Regions from separate parts of the Homo sapiens genome. Here regions 1, 2, 3, 4, 5 and 7 are each linked to region 6. The links are contacts of gene promoters, found by promoter capture Hi-C in blood cells and fetal thymus (Javierre and others, 2016). All regions are on one chromosome and are shown on one strand. The core of a region is centred on a gene start or on the middle of the fragment in contact, and the rest is flanking DNA. Distances in the headings are between cores, read along the strand shown. Region 1 overlaps URI1 (URI1 prefoldin like chaperone). Region 2 has its middle 16 kb from the start of POP4. Region 3 overlaps URI1 (URI1 prefoldin like chaperone). Region 4 overlaps POP4 (POP4 ribonuclease P/MRP subunit). Region 5 has its middle 87 kb from the start of URI1. Region 6 holds the start of CCNE1 (cyclin E1). Region 7 overlaps URI1 (URI1 prefoldin like chaperone).

Region 1 (3,625 bases), core at 856-3,355, 190 kb before region 6:
TCTTACATCTGAAACAATGAACACAACCATTATGTAAAGCATGGCATATATACGACCTGTAGGAATATTTTAACTGTAGTCCTATCACACTACAAGTATGATTTAACAGTAATGCTTTTCAAAAATCTTACACTATTTTCCTTTTAAATGGACTTTTAATAAGTTATACTGTGTATTTTTGTGCTATATATATAGCACATTACTTTGTTCGTAATAAAATGTCTAACATATTTTCTCTCTATTACAGAGTACAGAACTAGATTGTAGATGCTGCCTGGTGCTACCAGGTTTCTATAGGATAAATATCTAGTTGGATCATCACATAAAATGCAGTATTTCATAACAGTTTTGTTGCACAGGTAATTTTTGTCCAGCTGGATAATGCATAGATAACATAGATTAAGACAAGTTATTCTGTTCCTGAACAGAAAATATTCCTAAATTAGATGACTGAAAATACAACACATTTTTTACGGTATATAATCAACCATTTCCAAGTTAAACTGCATAACAACACAACACACAGCCTTTCAACATCTCCTAAATACCACCCTCTATTAACCTATTTGAGGAAAAATTTTAATTTGAGAATAGACACAAACATTTCTCTACCCAATACTGGACAAATGCAACAAGTAATTCATGTTTCTGTAATCAGAGTAGAAATCTCTGCTAAGCAGTAAATGGCACCATCTAAAAAATACATGGGGTTTCTAACTATAATTATATGCTGAACAATATCCTACTTTTCTCCAAATACAGAATTTTTATGGCCAAGCGCTGATAAAGAATAATAGACAGTGATATGATACCTCCTCCCCCAGATGCTCTGTGATTTCCTACTGTTTTACAACAGGCACTCAATCAGTAAGCAGATCAGAAGAGGATGGAGGAGAAAAGTACATAGTTCTTTCTCTACCAATGATGAATGCAGGTCTGGCAAAGGTCTAAGCAGTTAAAATATCTTTTAAAAGAATGAAAATAAGGAAGGGAGTTAAAAGTGAAATATCACCACATATGAAGGGCTTCTCGAGAGTGGCACATGTTCTCCGATACGGCTCTCATGCTATGCAATGCTATTTTAAATAAAACACAATCACTTATGCTCTAGCCATGAATGGGTTACAAAAAAAAGACTGCATTAACAAAATGAAAATTACGGTGTAAACAGTTCATAAAATCTCACAGCCCTGATGTCGCTCTAGATCATTAAATTTCTGCAACAATTAGACCTTTTCTCACGGCAGCAAATTGGACCGGTTGCCATGGCAAATCTGAGCCCTTAAGTCATATATCTTTGATTGCAGAAAGGTCAGACTCAGACAGCCTAATAACTCAAGGAGCTGTTTGACAGATTTCATCCGAGCATGGTCACATAACAGCATAAAACTATGTCGGCAGTTGTTAAAAGCAGGGGGTCAGGGAAAAGGTTAAGGTTATGGAATGTTTTTGCTTCAGTAAACTCAGTCAGATAATGTGTCTAACCAGCTTTAGATCTAAAGAACATTATTTTAGGTAGGAGGTCAAATCAATAACTTTTTTCAAGAAGACTGGAAAATATTAAAAATGGCAGGTAGGTAAGCTAAGTACATTTTTAAAAGTCTATCCACATATAAATACTGTGCAACTAAGCTAAAGGTATCAGTGAAAGCCTTGGGTTGTCAATGTGTAAAGAATTGATTGTTCACTGATGTTATAGGAGTTACTTTCAATCAACTATTGTTGACTTTAAAAAAAATTCATCATAACTCACGCATGTAAGAAAAAGTTGTGTGAATATTCCATTTAAGAAACAAAGTGTTTTGGAAATAGGGTAATTATGAAAAACTGAAATACGATTGCACAGTTCCATTTTTAAATTCAAGAAAGCTTTCTGAATCATACATTAATATAAACCACTATCACAAGGTTAAGAAATCAGATCTCAAAAGCATATACTTTATATCAGAATCTCAGAAATACCACAAACTGATAAGCACCAACACCGTCACATACACATTATATATGCAGATATATATCTCTATTAAATTATCATAAGTCCTATGTCCTAGAGCAACAAAAAATTAGATAGCTATACAGAAAATTTAAGACAAGACAAAAGAAAGCTGGGCAACCGCAAGGCAAACGAACCTGGTGCTCACAATAACATAAAATACAGCAGAATGGTAAGCACCTATTTCGATTTTGTACAAAGTAAATAACAAGTCTAAATTCGTATCTACAGGTTGTTTCAAAAGAACAACAGTTAAAAAAGCAGAATGAGAATTTAATTCCATTTCTTTCTATAACTCTGAGATTTAACATTAGAAACCATGCTATTACATTTTTCACTAAAGCTTTTGTACTCTATTCTCCAAAAATTTATTTTAAGAGGTGAAATATACATGTCACTAAAAATGGATCATTTAAACAGACTCAATCAATTTTAACGCTCCAAACATGGCTAAGTTGAAATCTAATTAAGCAAAATTTCAAACCACACTGAAATTATAGCAAATAACACTACTGAGAGAAAAAGAAATATACTTTGTGATATAGACAATATCTGTATTCATTTTAATCTCAAACATTTTAGTTACCAATTATTATAGAAAAAAGAAAACAAATTCAATGGGATCAAAGAAATAGCTGTGAAAATGTACAAAAGACAGTTCTCCACAGATACTTCCCCCCACCCCAAAAAATAAAAACTAAAATTGAAGAAAAAAATTAGTAATTTGAAGGACAGAAGATTGTTTTCAAACACAGGTTATTTTAACTAAAAATCAGAAGTTAAATTTTCTAGGATTTCAGAAGTATAGAATGAGGTATAGTTTTTATTTATTTAGCTGACAAAACCAGGCTGCAGGTTAAATGTGCAGCAAGCATAAGCTAATATTTTAAAGTCTTCACTAATTCAGAATCTTTGTCCAGAACTGGCTGAAATCCTTTGAGTTAGCTATGAAAAAGGAGACTTAAAGCAAATTAACAGTGCAAATTCCAAAGACATGTTTAAACCAAAAAAGAAAATTTAAAACCTCATAAGAACTTAAGCAGTCATTTTCACCTAAAGATAAACGATATGCCTACTCACTAAGTAAGACCAAATATTTAGAAACATTTAGTTAACAGTTTGTAGAATTGTATATATTTGAAAGGAACAGAAATGCAGATGTAATAAAAATTATTTGCAAAACACTAATAAAAGTTATGAACATCATTCGTGAAAGGAGTCTTTTTTACTTAGCCATATATTCATATGTACTGAATAGTATGAAGCCTGTAAATATGCAATTCTCTACTGAATCCTTTGTGACCACTCTATTCTCAACCTCGTTTCTTTTGTGTGCTGGAATTTTTAAATATTCTTTCGACAGCTTCAACAGGACGTGCCCCCTGGTGGAAATACTCACAAACCTCTGGACAGGATGTACTCCTTCTTAAACCAGTACAAAGGTTTGGACTTCTGCTTTAAAATAGCACATTGAATACATGTACTTAGTATTTGCCTTTCCCCTATACCTTAGGTAAAGTAACAACTAAGAAATTTTTAAAGGCATAAACCCATAAAGACAAATACATTTGAAGAGAAAATAGACAAGAAATGTCAACCAAATTTTGGAAACTGCACAACTGATAATGGACT
Region 2 (3,437 bases), core at 394-2,893, 220 kb after region 6:
CAATGCAGAGGGCTGAGGGAAACTTCCCATGTAGGGGTTTCGTTCCAGGCAAGGAACTCTTAGTGTCCCTTACTTTTTAAATAGTGGGCTGTCAGTGTGCCTGCCCTTTGCAAATCTGTCTCTATCTTCCAAAGCTGTTCACTGTATAAATAGCCTTGAAAAGATAGTCTACCACAAGGGCCAACAGTGCCTCTGCTCATGAGATATGCAGAAATGTGAGACACTTATGAATTATCTACCAACATCCCCATGGCTTGTGCCCCAACCTTATGTCTCGTCACTCCATCTTACACTTCATGCTGGGTCATGACAGACTCCTTGTCACCTCTGTCTCTCTGGGCTGTTTGTTCATGAAGACTCAACAACTTGGATTATCCTTTCTTCCTTTCCAGCCACTCCCTGCACACCCTTTGAAATTCCCTCTGTGGAAAGCTTTCCCCATTAGACCATGAACCCCTTGAGGTTCCTGTGCCCTGAGGGGAGGTTGTGGTATATTTTCCCTGAACAAAGATCCCTTTCTCAGTTCTCCAAGACCATTTAGTCAATGACACACTAACCAATCCTGGGTGAATTCAGATTTAAGTGTAGCTGATCTTTCTGCATGAACATCTTGCTTAGCCGAATGAAAGCCTCTTGGGGACCGGGGCTCTGTGTTGGACACCTCGGCAGAGTGGCAGGCAGGTAGAGGACACATGTAAAGTCCTTGCTGATCAGCAGGTGGCTGGAAGCCTGTGGCTTAGCAGGGACAGTGAGTTGGCTGAGCAGACATGTGCTGCCCATCCGTGCTGCAGTGAGGTCCCTCCTGGATGTGGAGGCTGCTTGCTGGACCCAATTTCCTGAAATCAGTTGCATTGACTTGTGGGCTTTTTTTGCAAGTAACTGTTGTCTCTGCAAGAAGCAGTCCCCGAATCACATCAAATGACTTGAGATCTGGGTTGAGATAGTTTCTGTTAATTAAAAAGCTGTATTTCTCATCTTGAGTTGAGGAAGGAAATTTCTGGGAGAAAGAAGCACAGCTGTGCTCCCAGGATTTCTCTCATCCAGAAAGACAGAAATTCAAGTGAATCTAGTAAGTGTCCATGCAGCATTTACAGTGTGTGGGGATATTAGGGACATAGACATAGGAAGAATGATTAATTACAACCTGGTCCCTGCCTTCAGGAAGCTTCCGCCCAGCAGGGTGAGATCAGGGCAGTGAGTGAGAGCAAGTCTTTCAAGTACCGGGGGATAATGAGGAGACAAGACTTGTTCGCCTGCATCTGGAAGTGGAGTGTTACCATTTATTACTGCACAACCAATTACCCTAAAATGTAGTGGCTTAAAAGGACATTTCCTATCTCAGTTTCTGCAGGTCAGGAAGTTGGGAATGGCTTAACTGAGTAGTCCTGCCTCAGGGTTTTCCAACTTGCAGTCCACATGTCAGCCAGAGGTTTGTTCATCTGTAGGCTTGGCTGTGGGTGCAGCATCCAGTCCCAGGATGGCCCCTACACAGGGATGTGGGTAGGAGTCCTAAGTTCCTTGCCATGATTTGAGGATGGTTTTGAGTATATCTTCAGCTGGCTTCTCCAGAGTGGATGATCCAAGAGCTAGCAAGGCAGGAGCTGCAGTGTTTTTCATGAACGACTCTCCAAAGACACCACAATTTCTGCAATGTTCTATTGTTGCATGAGCCAGTCCTACTCCTTGTGGGAGAGGACCACAATACCAAGAGGCAGGGGTCACTGGGGACCGTTTTGGAGGTGGCTACTGCATGGCTGTCTCCTGCTAGCAAAAGGATACAGGGGTGGAGAACAGAGACCTCAATTCCCCCATGTCTGTTCTCCCTCCTGAACAAACTAGCAGCCTCTGCAAAAACTACTTTGGAAAGCGCTGCTTCAGGCCCCAGGCAGCAGGGAGCACTCTGAGACTGCCCTGAAGACATTGCTGGTGCGGCTTGCAAAAGCAGGATGCTCTGTTTCAAAGGGCTTTCCTGGCTGAGGGGCAAGGGAGGCGGCAGGAGGCCTCTGGAGCCTGCTCCCACTGTGACTACTTGCGGTTCTCCACTTTGCACCTTCAGAGTGGATGCTTCCCCTGGTCTTCATCTAAGCTGCAGTTCATGTCTCTAAAAAATACAAAGCTTTTGCTTTGCTGACCTAGATTGGTCTCAGCAAAAGCAAAGATGCATTTTCTCCCAGGGCCCAAGGCAGTCAGCCCTTAAATGAAGTTTATTTAACAAAGGGAATAGTTCCAGTTGAATTTTCGAGATGGAACTGTGGGTTCATTTGCAGCAACATGGAAGGTCGAGGGGAAGCTAATGAAAATGGTTTTTCTCAGCATACATGATTGATATGGTTTGGCTGTGTCCCCACCCAAATCTCATCTTGAGTTGTAGTTCCCATAATCCCCACATGTTGTGGGAGGGACTCGGTGGGAGGTAATTTAATCAAGGGGCCGGTTTCCCCCATGCTATTCTTGTGATACTGAGTGAGTTCTCACAAGGTCTGATGATTTTATAAGGGGCTTCCCCCTTCACTCAGCTCTTATTCTTCTCTCTCCTGCTGCCATGTGAAGGACATGTTTGCTTCCCCTTCCACCACGATTGTAAGTTTCCTGAGGCCTCCCCAGCCATGTGGAACTGTGAGTCAATTAAACCTCTTTCCTTTATAAATTACCCAGTCTCAGGCAGTTCTTTACAGCAGTGTTAGAACAGACTAATATAATGATGCACAAGTGTTTCCAGAATGACATGTACATCTTCCAAGCTTGAGCCTCGCCATGTCTCTCCTTCACACAGATACCCTGTGAAGATGAAATTCCAAGACAAAAGCACATTTGGGCCAAGTTTCCTTGGGTCTGTGTGCTCCAATCCTGGGGCAGTCCTCCCACAGCTGTTGCCTTGGGGTGGGCCCCTGCAGATTTCTTGCAGGGGACATCAGTTTGGCCTCCTGGCATCTGCTTCCTCTCCAATAATAGCTTGTCTGATTTTTGCGGGAGGATCTGCCCATCCCACTCTCAGCCCAGATGCATCTGGTGAGGCTTATTCCATCCTGGGCTCACCAAGTCAGCACACTCAGTCTCTCTCACCCTGGTGATTGGTTCAGGATGATCCATGCAGGGCATCTGTACCTGTACCTTGTACCCCCTGGTACACAGAGCCAGGATGGATCAACTCTGGAACTTTTCTTTTCTAGAGATGGGTCTCACTCTATCACCCACGTTGGAGTGTGGTGGTACAATCAATGGCTCACTGCAGCCTTAATCTCCCGGGCTAAAGTGATCCTCCCACCTCAGACTCTCAAGTAGCTAGGATCACAGGTGGGCACCACGACACCTGGCTAACCTCTTTATTTTTAGTAGAGATGGGGACTTGCTATGTTGTCCAGACTGGTCTTGAACTCCTGGCCTCAAGCAATCCTTCCACCTCAGCCTCCCAAAGTGCTGGGATTACAGATGTGAGC
Region 3 (3,663 bases), core at 986-3,485, 150 kb before region 6:
CAAAAATACAAAAATTAGCCAGGTGTGGTGGTGCATGCCTGTAATTCCAGCTACTCAGGTAGCTTGAATTGCTTGAACCAAGGAGGTGGAGGTTGCAGTGAGCCGAGATCACACCACTGCACTCCAGCCTGGGAGACAGACAGAGACCCTGTCCCCAAAAATAAATAAATAAATAAATAAATCAACCACCATAAAAGTAAAGAAAACCATTTCAATTTTAAACAAATTATGTTCCAAATATGCTGCAAAGCAAAACTGCTAATGAAAGCTAAGTCCAATTATATGGAGCCACTTCTGAAAACACTTACATGTTCTTATTTAAAATGTTAGCTAAGATGGAATCAAAAGTCTCCTTAATCTTTACCTTTATGTTTTAGCCAGATTCCTCCTACACAGGCTTCTAAGCATTTTTTCCTGTATGCCAATCTAGTCTCGTTTTACACAAATATCGGACTATGTCTAACGTGCTCTGGCACTATACATCTCCCTCCCTTGTTGGCTTTACCTACAAACTGGGCTCTTTTTTTCTTTCAGTAATCATTACTCACTATCTTAAGTATTCTATTACAGTTTTCTCCTATTGGAAATATTTTAAGAGTGGTGACACATACATTCAGTAATACTTCTAAGAATGAAGACGTTTACATGTTTGGAGGGTTTTGGGGGTGACTTGAACTAGAGATCCAGGAACTCTAACTGTTCTGGCTGAAAGCTCCATGAGGTAGGGCCATGTAGTAAACATAACATTTGCAATGAAACATATGAATATTCAAAATGTAATAAATGCCTCACCCATATAAGTTCCAGTTTTGTCAACAATGAATATGCCATAAACTTAAGAATAACTGTGTTTTCAGTGCTTTTCAGGCTTCCGAACTGCAGATAAGAAATTGTGACCTACATTTCTGAATCTGAAATACTGCCTGAATTCCACCTTGCATGCCCACTGTTTTATCAGAGATTATCAATCATTTCTTCTCCATTCACATGCCTTCCTCGTAGAAACCCTGCCCTTCTCCCATAAAGAATGGGTAAAGAATCCCATTTCTCCGTCTGTAGCCACAATAAAGGGAGAGGATAGATACCTGCTGCTAACTGGACCAACCTCATTTACTTTGGACATCAGAGCCTGAGGTGATTACAGATTCTGGTCCTAAAAGAAAGACCACTATAGGATCTGCACAAGCTAACCAACCATCTAAAGCAGCTGGTACAGGAAACAACATAAATGTACAAGAAAACAAAACACAGAGACCCAAAAAACTCCTACCCTTGACTCCCTCCTGACTTCTTACAGTAAATTATTTCATAATTTCCTAAGCATCTGTATGATTTGCAACTAAGAAAACTTTAGAGTAGCAAACTTGCCACACAGGTTAGGAGGAGAATGTGCCTGTGAAAGGCTCAAAGGAAACAAACAGTCCACTGAAGAGTAAATACAAGTAGAAGAAAAAAAAAAAAAAACAGGAAAATATACTCCCAGGTAACAAAAAAGTCAAATTAAAGCAATCTTATTTAGCATTAATTAAAGAAGTACATTTTTATTTTAAACACCACTGGCCGGGTGTGGTGGCTCACACCTGTAATCCCAGCACTTTGGGAGGCCGAGACAGGTGGATCACCTAAGATCAGGAGTTTGAGATCAGCCTGGCCAAGATGGTGAAGCCCTATCTCTACGAAAAATACAAAAAATTGGCCAGGCGTTGTGGCAGGCGCCTGTAATCCCAGCTACTCAGGAGGCTGAGGCAGGAAAATCAAACCCGGAAAGCAGAGGTTGCAGTGAGCCAAGGTCACGCCATTGCACTCCAGCCTGGGCAACGAGAGCAAAACTCCGTCTCAAAAAAAAAAAAAAAAACAAAACAAAAAACAAAAACAAAAGAAACCACCACTGTCAGTGAGACTGTAGTAAAAATCTCAAATCACACTAAATCACTGCAAGTAGCTATGTAAATTCAAAACTCAGTCTAGACTTGCGTAATACCTCCAAGTAGGACAAAAAAAGCTTGTAACTCTCAGAAAGTAGAAGAGACAGACAGATAAATACAAAAATTATCTCTTTAAAGGCACCCAAGAGCTGCCAAAGCAGTGAGGACAAGAGGGACCAAGGATTCAGAGAGGGGAGAACTGTGGAGAAGTGAGCTGATCATCTGAAGCCACTTTTTTCTCAGACAACAGGAGGCACAGGCAAGAGGCTGAGAATTATGTTGGGCCCTGAGGAGACAGCCATGGCTAGCAGAAAGAAACAAGCAGAACTTGCGCAGTCTGACAAGGCTATATGGTAGTAAAATGAGAGCACAAGAGAGGTCTTAAGCATACAACTGCTTTCCCTCCCATGGTATCTGTCAAATTCTGAGCTGCGAAGGCCAAAAAGATAAACTAAAACTCTGAAAAGCAGAGCTCAGGATCAAACAAAAATTAGTTCAGAAGCCTCCAAGGAAATATGGTGTAGTGAGCAAAATCAAGCTTCCAGATGAAAGCCTGAAGAAACCAGAAGCAGCAGATGGCTTACTAAAACAACAACCTGGCCTTCACTCCACCCAGCACCTGCCCGGAGTAAGGTGACCAGCTCCCACTGCATCTGCTTCAGTAGAAGAAAGGACGCGCCTTTTCCAGAGGAAGTTATCACCTTCAGGAATATCTACAATCTTTAAAGACACAATCCCAGGATTTAGTCAAAAATAACTAGGATGCCAAGAAACAGGATCATATGACCAAAAGTCAAAAGAAAAAATATATAAAACAGAACCAAACACACATGCAATCTAGATACTGGTGTTAACAAACATAATGATTAATATGTTCAAGGAAATAGAGGAAAAGATAAAAGGAATATATTTTAAAAATAGCAATTTTCACTAGAGAACTGAAATCTACAGGAAGAAACCAATGAAAATTGTACAACTGAAGAACCAAAAATTAAAATAAATGGCATTAAAAGAAGATTAAACAGCAGAAATCAGGATTTTTGAACTTGACAGGTCAAAAGAAAACACCAAATTAAAGCCCAGAGATTCAAAAATAAAACATGGAAAATACAGAAAAGACCAATAAGAGACATGTGAAACACAGTGTAAGTGCAAGATCCAGAAAGGGAAGAGAGAATGCAGCAGAAGCAATATTGAAAAGATCTTGAATTCTGGATTTTCTAAAACTGATATCAAAGTATCAGCCGATAGACTGAAGAAACTCCAAGAATCCCAAGCAAGAGAAGCACAAAGAAAATTTCAAGGCACAACATAGTTAACAGTGATGAAAACCAAAGAAAAAGGGAAAACTTTATGTGCAGCTGGGGGTAGGCGGAGGAGGCACAGGGGAGATTCACAGCCTTCAAAGGAGTGACAAGACTTAGAGCTAGAGCTAACTTCAACATCAATGACAGAAAGTGAAAGATAACAGAGTATCTTGAAATGCTGGAAAAAATAACTGAAAATCTATAGTGACATACACAGCAAATAGATCCTCCAACATGAAGGAAAAAATAACATTTTCAACAGAAACAGAATTCTGCACCAGCAGACTTTCATTAAAAGAAATACGGTTTATTAAACTAGACATGTTGTTAATAAAATGTCTTATCAAAAAAATTATTAAACTAGATATTGTTATTAAATAAGTGTGATCGGTTAAAAAAAAGACAGCAACAACAACAAAAAGGACTCTTCA
Region 4 (3,444 bases), core at 679-3,178, 200 kb after region 6:
TGCCAGAAGACTTGAAGCAGGGAAGGAACGTGCTCTGATTTCTACGTAACCGGCACTCTGGCTGCCTGGTGCGGTGAGGAGCTGTGTCTGAGGTAATCTGGGGAATGACAGTGGCTGAATTTAAGTAGTAGGATGTTCCGAAGGATTCGAGGAGATTAGGAAAGAAGAAACATAGACACTGTTTAGGTTTTTGGTCTGAACAACCAGTGTAAATAACTGAGTAATTAACTGAGATGGAAAAGACCAGGAGGGGTTGCTGTGAGGAGAATCGGTGGCAGCTTTGGCTATGTAAAGTCTGAGATGCCCCCTGAACATCCAGGTGGCTATGTCAAGTGGGCAGCTGGATGCCTGAGCCTGGAGTTCAGGGGACAGGCCTACGCTGGAGATGTCACCTTGGGGGCTGTCAGGTGTAGCTGACATTTGAAACCACAGCATTGGATGAAAGGGATTCTGTGTTCAAGATCCCAGGCCGTGGGTGAGTGCTCGCAGCCACTGTGCCCTTTAGGGTACCAACAGGGGTCCCTGTGTGGAGAAGGTACACAGAGACCACTTAGGGTGTGTCCAGCAAATGGCCGGACTGGCTAAGACAGCCAGCGAGAAGCATCTCCCACCCTTAGCGTGGGGATGATGGTGACTGGGGGCCATCTCAGGGAATCCACACGGTAAAGAGTGTGTCCAACAGAACACACGCCCTGGGTCTCCACAGAGTGACAGAGTGAACCTCTGGATGGCCATGTGCTACACGCTCTTAGGTAAATTACCTGAAATAATAGCCCCGTGAAGATCTGCCTTTAAGAGCTTGGCCTGAATCATCTGTGGCTGCCTGCAGGGTAAACAGAAGCCCTTGGTTTACATCATGATAAAAAGTTCCAAAAGAAGCAACTAGGTCTTTAACCGTCTGCAGCCAGGCAATACCAACGCTGGTTCCTGAAGCCGCATTTACAATGATCAGAGGCTTGAGATCCACCCCAAAGAGCAAAGCTTCAGGAATGCAACTTACGTGTCTGGCTTGAGCCCACTGCACAGGTCCCTGATGTACTGTTTCCAGAGTTCATGGAGAGGGAGGAAAAGGCTGTATCTGCAGCAAAGTCAGAAACAGGGAAAAAGTTAGACAACATGAGCTTGGGATGACAATGTCCAAATAGCACAGAGCTTGACTTGATGCCAACAACTGCAACCTGGGATCATTAGGAACTATGTGCAAATCCGACGATGAGCAATTGAGCTGATAACCGAGACCAAGAACCTACACCTCTCTAACCTCAGTTTCCTCATTGGTAGGACCACACCAGCCCAGGGCGGTGTCCACCTGGACTTCTTTTCATGAGAGAGAAATAAACGTGAGTCTTGTTGAAGCTACTGTTATTTTGAGGTTTTCTGTTACGTGAAATTGAACCTAGTAAGCCCCCAGTAAAGCAGGGGTTGCTGGTTGTCACGCAGGTCCTCATGTGAGGCAGCAGGCTGGTCTGGAAGGTGGGCAAGCAAGTGGTGGGGAGAAGAAGCGGGGAGCAGGGGCAAGGACCCCAACAGCGTTCTTCTGGGCCATTATCTCCAGTCTTGATATCCTGTGGGGAATCCGTTACCACAAAGCCTTAGGTTAGAGAAATGAGGACCTTAAGCTCAAACCCAACCTGGGCTCCACCCGGGAGGCAAACCCTGGGAGGCAGCAGCCCCTTCTCCACCTGAGGCCCAGCTGATCTCCTGAGTGGGGCCGGGAACAGCATGGCATACTTTAAGCGTCTTCTGGAGCGTGGGAGGCTATTTGGCCGTTGATCTCCAAGCAAAAGCCTACAGACAGCCCCAAGACACCCACACTCAGACCCGTCACCAAGGAGGGATGGCGGGTCGGCTGGAGGAAGACATCCTCCCACAGGACAGGACAGTGATGCATTCCTTTTGGAAACTTCTGAAACGTGTGGGCAACATCTTGCTTTGGCAATGAAACCCGAGTGGGTGACTGTCTGGCTCTATCAAAAGCTACAAAGTAATACACACTAAAAACATATCAGTTCCTCTTTTCTGTCTAACAAAGCCGAAGGACAAACAGCCTGTTGCCATGGGCAACAGATGTACTTGCACGGGTCTTACTCCTGAAGGTGAGGAGAGAGGCCAGACAATGAGTCCTGTCTCACCCGCCTCGCTGAACACAGCCCAGATTGGTAAAGGAAGGCTGCCCTCTTGTGGCAGACGACAGAGAGGCCCCCTTAGCTTAGGTGGAGCCAGGCTGCCTCCCCAGCCACTCAGCCAAGTTCACACACCAAGAAGGGTAAGCACCGCGGGCAGAAAGACGTGGGGAGCTCGGGTTACCTCTGCTGCTCTGGTTTAATGTCAAAGAGCCGCAGCTCCCTCCTTTGCCTGGCAGAGAGGCCTTTGGCTTTCTTCTTCTTCTCCTTGCGCTTGTGGCGGGTGAAGTACTCCAGGACCACCGCCTTGCGCTGCAGCTGGTCCTCGCGGGCCTGCGGGCTCATGCGGGGCGTGCTGCGCTTCAGGAAGGCCCTCACGAAGGCCTCGGCCCGCTGTGCTCCTGAAGGCTGCAGGCGGACAAGGGGGTGCGGCGCTCACTGCTCCGGTCTGGGCAGCCCAGGATCCCAGGCATCCCGCCCGCCATTCCCGGCAGCTACTGCAAGAGCAAATGGGGCCCATCCCTTTACCTACTGAGGCTCTCAACCTGCTCATCCGCCATGCATCTGCTACCCACAGCTGCCGAGATGTAAGTCACACTCACACACCAATTCATGACCGTTTGTCACACACAACAGCGTGTCAAACGCTCACTTCCTGCTCTGGCCCTGCTTTTCTGAGGTTATTCTGAAAGGACCAAAACCTTTCTATCTTGAAGAAGAATTCTCTCATCCTTGGCAGAAGAGAAAGCTTGAGAAATGTATAACAAATATATTCAACCAGGCATGACCAGATGAAAGTGAGCTCAGAGTAGCACTAAGCTATGGAGGAAGTGATCCTAACACTACAGAAAACAGCAAAACTAGGGCTCCAGGGTCGGCCAAGCCTCAGGGCGCAGGGACCCTGACACTGTGCCCTTAGGACAATACTCCTTAACCGGGTTTCCAGCTCTGTGGGCATGGTGTGGCCACTCTCCAAAAGGTCCGCTCCCGCCCCGCAGACCATCACTTGGAGGAAGGTACCGTCGAGAGCATCTCAGGCCCCAGGCTCGCTCTCTCTGAAGGGTGTCACTGAGAGCAGGGCGTCAACTTACCATGAATGAGCACAGGCTCTTAGAGAGGACTTCTGGGAAAAATGACTGTCGTAATTGTGTGCAATTCTCAAACAAACAAACAAACAAACAAACAAACAAAGAAACCCTCCAAGCTCACTACCTCTCAGGTTGGAGTTCCAATAACGGATTCCTCATTTGGTGGCAATGCCACTGCCCTCATGCCTGCCACAGACCTGGGCAGTTCTCTCTCCTGAGGGCCTGTCTCCTGG
Region 5 (3,776 bases), core at 1,039-3,538, 220 kb before region 6:
TCCCAGAGAAAGCAAAACTATGGAGACAATTTTAAAAATCAGTGATTACCAGGTATTGGGGCATAGGGACGGATGAATAGGCACAGCACAGAGGATTTTTAGGGCAGTGAGACTACTCAGCAACTATAATGGTGGATATGTGTTCTTATATATTTATCCAAAGCAACTGAATGTCCACCAAGAGTGAATTCTAATACAAACTATCAACTTCGGGTGATGATGTGGCAATGGATATTCAACTACTGTGGCAATGGATATTCAACTATTGTAACAAATGTATCACTCTGGTGGGGATGTTGATGATAGGGGAGGCTATGCAGGTGTGGGAGCATGGGATATATGGAAAATCTCTGTACCTTCTGCTCAGTACTGCTGTGAATCTAAAATTGCTCTTAAAAAACAGACTTTTAAAAAAATTAGACAAAATTATCAAAAACAACTACTTTTCACCTCTGAGTATTGACCAAAACATAGGACAAATGGAGAAGTGTTTATTCAAGAAAACTACTGAAAGTTGGGTAAAAATGATGACAGTATGTGGCATTGTGACCACTCTCCCTCACCCCAGCTCCTTCAGACAATAGTTCTAACAGGGTGGGACAGCTTGTAAAACCAGAAGCATTTATACTGTAGGGAGCTGACTCAATCTGAAACAACGTGGAAAAACCCAACGCCCAGGGGCTTTGTTAAATATAGCAATTTCAGTGCCAAACATAGGAGAGGTCCACATACATCATAGATGACCTGAAGCTGAAATACTATAGCTGGGCCAAAAAAGAGATCAGAAGAAAAAAATTTTCTGCCTGGAGATTTAACAGAAACAATCAGGAAGTGAGACAATCATAGTCCTTGATAAGCTTACATTTTGAAAGGTAATGGGCATATTAGGGTATGAACATGCTGAGAGACCAGAGAAGGCTCTAACTATATACATACCCCCAGGGAAGACTCGTAAACTGCATAAATTTTCAGTGTGTTCCTCAAACAAAACAGAGACTTTGACAAAGGATGAAAGTCTTACCAAAACAAGATGCCTAAGTACAATCTCTGACCAGTCACCAGCTGATCACTAAGATATATTGATCCAAGGTGACCCATAAGTAGTCAAACATAACTGAGGAGAGACATCAGAGGCCACACGCTGTAGAGAAAAACTCATTATTAATCTTGGCCAAGTCATAAAACAAACAAAAAAAGGGACAATAACCCCTGGCAGGAGAGTATCAGAAATAAATGCTGTTACAATGTATTATTTAAAATGTCCAGTTTTAAACAGGAAAGTATGGCTTATCTAGTATAAAAAAAAAAATACTCAGTATAAACAGAAGCTATTTCCAAGGGTTCCCAAATGTTGGACTTAACAGACAGACTTCAAAGCAGCCAATAAAAATACATCTTCAAAGAACAAAAGAAAACCGTGTTTAATCAAAGCATGAAAACAATGACTAATCAGAGAACACTTAATAAAGAGATCAACATTTTTTAAAAAATGGAAATTCTGGAGTTGAAAAGTAACTAAAGTGAAAGCTTCATTAGAGGGACAACAGCAAACTTGAATGCAGAAGGAAGAATCAGTGAACTCAAAGATAAATCAATACAAATTACACAATCTGAAGAACAGAAGTGAGAATGAAAAATGAACCAAGTAGGAAATCTGTGGGTTACAATCAATACCAACATATGCATAATGGGAATCCCAGAAGAAAAGAATAGTGAGGGCCATACAAGTTTTGACATCTTTTGAAGAGTCATAGAAGTTTTTAATGTCTGAAAACATTCCAAATTTAGTAAGAAGTATAAATCTGTATATCCAAGTATCTCAATAAAATCCAAGTAGAATAAACATTAAAATATCCACACCGATACACATCAAAATCTTGAAAGCAGCAAGAGAAAAATGGACTTATCATGCACAGGGGAACCCCAGTAAAATTAGCAGCTGACTTCTCAAAAGAAACAATGAAGGCCAGAATTAAGTGGTATAACATACTCTACTGTCAAACAAGAATTCTAAATCCAGTAAAACTATCCTTCAAAAAAGAGGACAAAAATAAAGATCTTCCCAGATAGACAAAGAGAATTTGTTGCCACCAAAATTTTTTTTACAAGATATGCTAAAGCAAGTACTTCAGGCTGAAAGGAAACACCACCAGATGGTAACTTGAATCCACATAAAAAATTAAAGTACCAGTAAAAGTAATTATGTAGGCAAATGTAAAAAATAGAAAAAATACTCTTTTTAAGTTTTCTTCTCTTACTTAAAAGATAATTGCATGGAAAAATAATGAACCCATATAGTTATAAATAATAAACCTGTACTGTTATAAAATATATTACAATAATAGGACAAAGGAAAAAGAGACTAGAGCTATGCTGAAGCAAAGTCTGCCAGAATTAAGTTAGTATTATTCTGACGCAGGTTATAATGTTACAATGCATCCTATAAACTCTAGAGCAACCACTATAAAATAACTCATAAAAAAGAGTAAAGCTCTCTTCTACTATGTGAGGACACAGGAGGCCATCTGCAGCCCAGGAAGAGAGCCCTCGGCAGGAACCAAATCAGCTGCTAACCTTGACTTCCCAGTTTCCACAAATGTAAGAAATAAATTTGTGGGTTTAAAAAAAAAAAAAGTACAGTTTCTTTTTGTAAAGGAATTCAAAGTTTATACTAAAAGATTTATTTAACATACACAAAAAAAGGTAACCAAGGAGGAACAGAGGAACAAAAAAGACATGACATATAAAAAATGACTAACAAAATGGCATGAGCTATTGATATGTAAATGAGCCATATCAACAATTACATGAATTAACACACATTTCAATAAAAAGACAGGCTGGCAAAATAGACTTTTTAAAAACAAAATTCAACCACATGCTGCCCACAAGATACAAATGCTAAAAAGGATGAAAAAAGAGATACCACATAAGCATAACCATAACCAAGGTGGAGTGGTCATAATCATATCAGACAAAACTGACATAGGCTTTAAAATTAAAATGTTACTAGAGAAAAAAGGGACATTTTGTAATAATAAAAGCTTCAATTAATCAGAAGATATGACAATGACAAACATATATGTACCTAACAACAGAGAAAAAAATGCATGAAACAAAAACTAACAGAACTTGAAAGGTAGGACTATTTAACAATAATAGTGTAAGGCCTCAGTATCCCACTCTCAATAACGGATAGCACAAGTAGACAAAAAATCAGCAAGAATACAGAAGACAACAATAACAATGACCTTGACATGACATCAACAGAACACTCCATAAAACAACAGAATACGTATTCTTTTGAAGCACACACAGGAGAACATATGCTACCCATTTTTAAAAAGTCCTAATGAATTTTTAAAAACTAAAGACATAATAAATGTTTTCTCCAGACACAACACAATTAAAGCAGGAACCAACAGAAAGAAACTTGAGAAACCCACTAATATTTGGAAATTAAACAATACATATTACAGTAACCCATGAGTCAAAAAAGACATCTCAAGAGAAATTAGAAAATATTTTTAACTACAGAAAAATTAAAACAAATCAAATGTCACTGGATGCAGCTAAGGGTTAGTGCCTAGAGGTCAATTTATATCTTTAAACACCTACATTAGAAGACAGTAGTCTCAAATCAATAGATTAACACCTTTAAAAACTATAAAAGGCAAGGAAGAAGAAAGGAAATAATAAAGATTAAAGTAAAAGTCACTGGAATAGAAAACTAGAGGAAAATCAACAAAATCAAAAAGTTTCTCTGAAAAGGTCAA
Region 6 (3,310 bases), core at 312-2,811:
AGAAGAATTTGAAATCTGACCTACAGAAGACGGAGGAGGTCCTTAAACACCATGACAAGAAAAATAGGTGTAGATAGGGGGAAAGTTGTTGCTTATAAACACCCAGGAACCCTCCCCCAGTTCACCAGCTTTTACAGACAAGGCCGAGAGCCCAACTTTGCCCCTGGATGGCACAGGACTCTGGGTTACTTTCTTCCTCTAACTGAGTCTCAGTTTCCTCCTGGGCAGAAGGGGAGGACTGAATACTGTGATGTCCATTCTGGTTCTTCCAGGCTAGGCACATATCTGTAATCTCAGACGGTGCCAGTCAGGAACACCAAGCTTCCTGGAATCCCAGGACTGGCAGAGGCCAGTGCCCACTGACAGGTACAGTGCTGGGCCATATGGGCTGTGGCTGCATTAGAGAAGTTCACTCTCACCAGAGTGTCTCCAGCAAGAGACAAGACAGCATGAAACCCCATGTGACCCAGGGGGAGAAGGACCTCCACAGAGGCCCAACCCCGGGCGGACCTACCTGGCTCCCACACTGGTCCCTCGCCGTCCTGTCGATTTTGGCCATTTCTTCATCTGGATCCTGCAAAAACTAACATGAAGCCACCCCCATGACCCCAAGGAAACACACCAAACAAGACAAAAACAGAGAGAAGAAGAGAAAGCTGATCAGGTTATGAGCTCCGTTCCTGCCCAAGGGACCCCCGCCCCCGTAGGCAGAGCCAAGTCGGGTACCCAGGTGAGATGGGGGGGATGCTCCCCAACCTGTCTCTTTTGTACTCACAACGGTCACGTTTGCCTTCCTCTTCCTGGAGCGAGCCGAGAACTCCGCGCCGCCGTCCTCCTTCATGGTGTCCCGCTCCTTCGCATCCCTGTGGACCCGGGTGGCACCGGGCCGGGTGAGCACCCGCGGCCGCCCCTCCCCCACGCCACCCGTCCCGTCCCGTCCCGTCCCGTCCGGCCCCGCGGCGCGGGCACTCACCGCTCCCTGCGCTCCCTCGGCATGATGGGGCTGCTCCGGCCTGAGGCCTGCGGGGCGGCGCGGGGTGAGGCGGCGGCGGGGTCAGGCCGCGGGCCCAGTACCCCTTCCCCCTTTGCGCGCGGGCGGCCGGGCGAGCCAGGAAGATGGCCGATGGCGGGGTGGCCTGTCACCCGCGACCCGGGCACCCGCCGACCCCCGACCCGGGGTCCCGCCGCCCCCGCCGCCCTCACCGGCCCGTCGCCTCCCGGGGCCCGGGCTGCCTCAGTGTCCCCTCCACCCCACCCCGCCGCGCTCTCAGCACCCTCCCGGGCGCCCCGCGACGCCGCCCGGGGACCCGCGACCCGGCCGCACCCCGCCCCCACCCAGCTCCCCGGCGCGGTCTGGGCCCCAGGAGTCCCTGTCCGCAGCCCGCGGCAGTAGACTCACCAGGGTCTTGTCCGCGGCGGACGGCGCGCTCCAGTCCCGGCAGGCGGCGGCGGCGACGGCAGTGGCGGCGGCGGCGCCGGGAGTCGGCGGGCCGAGCGCGCGGCGGTGGCGGGATCCGCGCCTGCCCCCTACACCGCGCTGGCGGCCGCGCCGGCTGCTCCTGCGCCCGGCTCAGAGCGGGACATTTAAAATCCCTGCGCGCGGAACCGGCCCCGGCCCGCCCTCGCACCGCCCCGCCGCGGCTCCCAGCCCCTCAGCGGCCGCGCGGGACCCAGAGCCCGTCCCGCCCCGTCCCTCGCCCCGCCCCCGGACCCGCCCCTCCACGGCGCCGGCCCGCGAGGCGCAGGGACGGGGAATCAGGGGCGGGGCCGGCGGACAGGGCGGGGCCAAGTGACAGGGCCTGCGCGCCGAGGGCCGGGCGCGGGGCGCGGGGCGCGGGACGCGGGGCGGGGCGGCGGGCGGGACGCGGGAGAAGTCTGGCGCGCGGCGGCGAGGGGCGGGCCGCGGGCGCCGGGGGCGGGGCCGAGCGGCGCTGGAGCGGCAAAAAGCCGCGTGGCTGGCGCGGGTGGAATGTAAACACGGCGGGCGGCGCGGGTTCGGGCCCCGGCAGGGCTGAGCCAAGGGGATGTGTGGGGGGCCTACCCGAGGAGCACCGCCCGCCGTTCCTCCGCGCGCGCTGTCCCGCCAGGCACGCCCTCCCCGCCCCCGAGACGCCGAGTTCCGGGCCCTGAGTCCTGGGCGGGGACATCCCCAAGGTCACCGCGCCTGTGCCTTGGCCTAGAACCAAGGCTTCAGGCCGCGGGGTCTGGGGCTCCCTGGGGGCCGGCTGCTATTCCTGGCCGCCTGTCCATTCATCCGTCAGTGCATTGGGTCGTTCATTCATTCATTCAAGGAATCTGTGAGTTCCTTCCATGCGCCCCTTCCATATGCGCCCCTCCCCCGCAAGCCCTTCCTGGCTCTCTGAAGACCTTTCTGACTCTGGGATTCCCTTGCACCCCATCTCTCACTTAAAGCCTTCCAGTTGAGGCCGGGCGCGGTGGCTCACGCCTTTAATCCCAGCATTGTGGGAGGCCGAGACGGCTGATCCCTTGGGGTGTTCGAGACCAGCCTGGGTAACAGTGAGACCCCCATTTCTACAGAAAAAGAAACAAAAAGCCTTCCAGTTGTTTCGCATAAGGGTCAAATCCACACTCCGTGTCCTAGGCTACAGGCTCCACAGGACCTGACCCTGATCCCCCACCCTCAGACCTCAGGCCTCCTCTCCACAGCTCCTCTGTCCTTTCTCCCTCAAGACTTGTATTTTTTATTGTGGCGGGGGGTGGGGGGTGGCAGGTAGGGATAGGGTCTTGCTATGTTGCTCAGGCTGGTCTCAAACCCATGAGCTCAAGCGATCCTCCCGCCTTGGCCTCCCAAAGTGCTGGGAGCCCAGCCCCTACACAGTCTTGGTGCCTCTCTGTTTCTTGTCTCTCTCCCCACCTTGCCCATCTTGCTCACTGCTGTATCTGTCAGTTCTTGGCATAGTGCCTGGACCAAGGGAGACACTTAAATTGTTTCTGAATGAACATTTGAAAGACAGGCACTGGCCAAGCCCTTGCAGGGCTTACCGGCTAATGAGAGAGACAGGTAAGGAACAGTCATCACCTCAGAGTACCCTCTGTACTCAGCTTCAGGAAGATGTGCGTAAAAGAAGGCTCTGGAATGCTCCCAGGGCCCTTCTTAAGCTAAAGTCTCAGTCCTGTCCCTCACCCTCCCCTAGTGACCGTTTTCTTGAAGTTAGAGCCAGGGTCTTATCAAAGAGGCTCACAAATTCATGATTCCCCCAGGTGCTCTGAGGCCAAGGCTGCTGGGCTACTTGCTCAGCAGGGACCCAGGCACCTGAACCCCCCATCCTGTGCCCGTTAGGAATCACCA
Region 7 (3,267 bases), core at 573-3,072, 170 kb before region 6:
GGGCCAAATGGTACCTATTGTTTAAAAAAAAAGAAAAAAGGGAAAAAACATAAAACACTGAAAAGTACATTTTATAAAACACTTCGCATTAAAAGCCTTACATAACTGAATTTTTTTATTTATACATTGGGAAAAATAAAATGCCAGCTTCACAGAAATTCAACACTATATTAAAATTTTACTAGGAAAATCTAAAGAAAATTGCTTTATGTTCATAAATCAATGTTAAAACAGGAAAATAAATCCACACCATATTTACATATAGCTCTTAAAGAAAGTAGTACTGTCTCGGCATGTTTATACTTTTCATTCACTTGCAAATCTAAGTGAAAGCAACTAGTAGTGAAACATTGTCAATGCAAAATACTTTTGATAAAGAAAACTAAAAATTATTTTCAATAAAGTAGACACTTTTGCAAAGCAGGAATTAGTAAACAAATAGCTTTAATGGATCTATCTAGCTATATATACAAAATACTTGGACTAGTATAAAAGAACAAAGTCTTCATAAGAAAGAACATTCATGCAATGAAAGGCTCTAATCCAGGGCTCATGAACAGATCACTATGTCGATGTGAAGATCATTAAAACAAAAATTAGCAGCACGTTTTTATATAAAAATCAATGTCCTAAGGTTTAATTCTGTGAATTACAAAACATTATGGCCTATTCCTGCTCTGGCTAACAAGAAACGACTTAGTACCATATTTCTGTCATAATTACATTTTTTATATAGTAAGTTTCCATTTGAAATATGTCCAATTTTGTGCTAATATTTATGTCATTTGTGTCACCATATATATTCTGAAAAAAAAAGGTAAATACCAACAATTACTACAATTACTGTGTTCTTATAAAGTAAAACAAAACAAATCTTCCTTGCTACATAGTTACCTTGGACACAGTCCATCAGCCTGACATTCTGTGAACCGACACATAGTTAATATGTTTACAAGAAACAACTATTACTTTAAAAGAAACACACCAAACATACCATTATATTATAAGACAATTTATCAGGCAAGGTGCTGAGTCTTTCTCGAAGGGCATTATAGTCATTATCTACCTTCTTCCTGTTGACAGAAAACACCAAATACACACATTATTAACGATTTTTCTTTTTTTTTTTTTTTTTTTTTTTTTTTTTTTTTTTTTTTTTTTTTTTTTTTTTTTTTTGAGACAGAGTGTCGCTCCGTCGCCCAGGCTAAAGTGCAGTGGCGTGATCTCGGCTCACTGCACCCTCCACCTCCCGGGTTCAAGCAATTCTCCTGCCTCAGCCTCCTGAGTAGCTGGGATTACAAGTGTGCGCCACCATGCAAGGCTAGTTTTTGTATTTTCAGTAGAGAGGAGGTTTCACCATGTTGGTCAGGCTGGTCTTGAACTCCTGACCTCATGATCCTCCCACTTCAGCCTCCTGAAGTGCTAGAGTTACAGGCGTGAGCCACTGCACCTGGCCTCACTCAAAAGCTTTATTAAATCTCTTCTTTCAGTCGTGTGTGGTGGCTCACGCCTGTAATCCCAGCAATTTGGGAGGCCCAGTAGGCCAGGTATCATAAAACAAGCTAATCAAAAACATAATTTTAGCAAATTCAAGATTAATGTGGTTTTATTTTTAGTTTTAAAATCCTGTTTTTATACAGTTTAGCAATGGCATTATTCTACCATACATTTATTGAAGAATTAAGACTCTTCAGGGACTCTGGCATTTAGAAGCAGAATACTCAAATTTTGAGAATTACTGTTTTTTAAGATACAAGACTATCTGGACCAAATAAAATGTGAAAATTAAGGGAGACAGTAAAAGAGGGCCTGATATTTGGAGAGAAGAAGGGACTCAAGATGAAAAAAGAAGAGATTTATTTATTTTAAGACAGAGTCTCTCTCTGTTGCCCAGGCTGGAGTGCAGTGGCACAATCTCAGCTCACTGCAACCTCCACCTCCTGGGTTCAAGTGATTCCCCTGCCTTAGCCTCCTGAGTAGCTGAGACTACAGACGCATGACACCACGCCCAGCTAATTTTTGTATCTTCCATAGAGATTAGGTTTCTTCGCCACGTTGGCCAGGCTGGTCTCGAACTCCTGGCTTCAAGCGATCCCCCCACCGCAGCCTCCCAAAGTGCTGGGATTACAGGCATGAGCCACCACACCCGGCCGAAAGAAGAGATTTAATAAAGCTTTTGAGTGAATAGATACTGGCTGTGAAGTTGAAATCATGAACATGAAATTTGATCAGATGCTTTAGTCCTCATCAGAAAACCTTAGGCTGAAAAATGCATCATCAGCTCTTCAATTATTCATAATAATGTGATTAAGGTAAGAGAGAATCAACTGGGGGTAGAAGAAATTAAGTAGAGATAATACAAAAGGCGTTTCAATTTGGCCTAGGAGTCTGTTTCTTGTTACATCAAACAGAGCTACCAAATAAGTAATTTCAAACAACCAAAAGGTATATGTAACTCTGTAGGGGCAGAGATGATCGTATTTCCATGCTATGGGCCTTACTCAGCTCTTAACACCTGCTGGAAATGAACAGCCCTTCTTTTTGAGTAATACCAGGCAGCAGCCTATGCCAAGATGCCCGTCAAACTTTCTCTGGAGACTGGGTTTCCAAAGGGTTCCCTGCTAAGATACAGGCTGCAAGCAAAACTACAGCACTGAATTTTTTTTAAGCAGAAGGATGTTGTCAGTTTTTAAAAATAACAGAAACAAAAATTCACCAACTCAGCAAGTAATTTAAAAGAACATGTAGACATTGTCAAATTGAAATCAGGATAAACTGCAATGTAGGTAACAACTCTCCAGATAATATAAATGACAAACATCACAGAATTGGTTTCAGCTTACTGCTTAGTTCCCTGAAGCAACAGTAGCATAATTAATAAAAAAAAATTAGCTCAGTCTTAAGATCTTAAGGAATTTCACATATATATTATTTTACATAACCTATAATAAATGTCACTTATCAGTATTTTTCTCTTACAGAAGACAAAGTAGAAGGAAGATGGAAAAACCACATAGCAAGAAGCCAGATCTCCTCTATCAAGATGAGGTAAGCAATGAGTTTAACCTAGCTAGGTCTTCTGACCTGCATTCCTTCATGAAAGCTTTCTCATTTTCTAGTGTGCAACTGCTTTATAACTTTCCCCAAAAAAAATCCTTTTCTATAAATAAATACGAAACATGTTTTATTCTTTTGTTTAAGGCAAAAATCCTCCTCCTGGAAAATTTTTATATGGATAAAATGGCAAAAAAACTTCATGCACAAGGC

The links. Contacts are between HindIII fragments. The CHiCAGO score rates a contact against its expected background, and 5 or more counts as called.
Region 1: a fragment that was not itself captured here is called in contact with the fragment with the promoter of CCNE1 in region 6 in 2 of 17 cell types (activated CD4 T cells and naive CD4 T cells); the score reaches 5.8 in activated CD4 T cells.
Region 2: a contact is called between a fragment that was not itself captured here and the fragment with the promoter of CCNE1 in region 6, in 1 of 17 cell types (total CD8 T cells). The highest score is 5.1, in total CD8 T cells.
Region 3: a fragment that was not itself captured here is called in contact with the fragment with the promoter of CCNE1 in region 6 in 2 of 17 cell types (naive CD4 T cells and total B cells); the score reaches 5.5 in naive CD4 T cells.
Region 4: a contact is called between a fragment that was not itself captured here and the fragment with the promoter of CCNE1 in region 6, in 9 of 17 cell types (total B cells, naive CD4 T cells, non-activated CD4 T cells and 6 more). The highest score is 11.6, in total B cells.
Region 5: a contact is called between a fragment that was not itself captured here and the fragment with the promoter of CCNE1 in region 6, in 2 of 17 cell types (activated CD4 T cells and total B cells). The highest score is 7.0, in activated CD4 T cells.
Region 7: a fragment that was not itself captured here is called in contact with the fragment with the promoter of CCNE1 in region 6 in 1 of 17 cell types (naive CD8 T cells); the score reaches 5.5 in naive CD8 T cells.

What each region holds. Positions count from the first base shown.
Region 1 is chr19:30,001,744-30,005,368 of GRCh38, reverse strand. It overlaps URI1 (URI1 prefoldin like chaperone), which reads right to left. Exons shown (of 11, transcript NM_003796.3): 5 at 1-8. Among named protein-coding and RNA genes, the nearest start is that of URI1, 61 kb to the right of the region's middle. RefSeq lists an enhancer at 773-1,662. The HindIII fragment of the contact is 467 bases long and covers 1,872-2,338 here.
Region 2 is chr19:29,588,928-29,592,364 of GRCh38, reverse strand. No RefSeq gene overlaps it. Among named protein-coding and RNA genes, the nearest start is that of POP4, 16 kb to the left of the region's middle. The HindIII fragment of the contact is 951 bases long and covers 1,168-2,118 here.
Region 3 is chr19:29,962,657-29,966,319 of GRCh38, reverse strand. All of the region lies in intron 1 of URI1 (URI1 prefoldin like chaperone), which reads right to left. Among named protein-coding and RNA genes, the nearest start is that of URI1, 22 kb to the right of the region's middle. The HindIII fragment of the contact is 461 bases long and covers 2,005-2,465 here.
Region 4 is chr19:29,609,496-29,612,939 of GRCh38, reverse strand. POP4 (POP4 ribonuclease P/MRP subunit) reads right to left here. Exons shown (of 7, transcript NM_006627.3): 3 at 2,308-2,531; 4 at 1,001-1,078; 5 at 762-823. Among named protein-coding and RNA genes, the nearest start is that of POP4, 4.9 kb to the right of the region's middle. RefSeq lists an enhancer at 2,535-3,046. The HindIII fragment of the contact is 1,890 bases long and covers 984-2,873 here.
Region 5 is chr19:30,027,277-30,031,052 of GRCh38, reverse strand. No RefSeq gene overlaps it. Among named protein-coding and RNA genes, the nearest start is that of URI1, 87 kb to the right of the region's middle. RefSeq lists enhancers at 136-635, 701-750. The HindIII fragment of the contact is 1,517 bases long and covers 1,530-3,046 here.
Region 6 is chr19:29,810,242-29,813,551 of GRCh38, reverse strand. CCNE1 (cyclin E1) reads right to left here and starts at 1,561. Exons shown (of 12, transcript NM_001238.4): 1 at 1,400-1,561; 2 at 974-1,020; 3 at 776-863; 4 at 515-583. The coding sequence starts at 996. RefSeq lists a silencer at 1,478-2,107. The HindIII fragment of the contact is 7,130 bases long and covers 324-3,310 here.
Region 7 is chr19:29,983,029-29,986,295 of GRCh38, reverse strand. URI1 (URI1 prefoldin like chaperone) reads right to left here. Exons shown (of 11, transcript NM_003796.3): 3 at 995-1,073; 4 at 1-14. Among named protein-coding and RNA genes, the nearest start is that of URI1, 42 kb to the right of the region's middle. The HindIII fragment of the contact is 706 bases long and covers 1,470-2,175 here.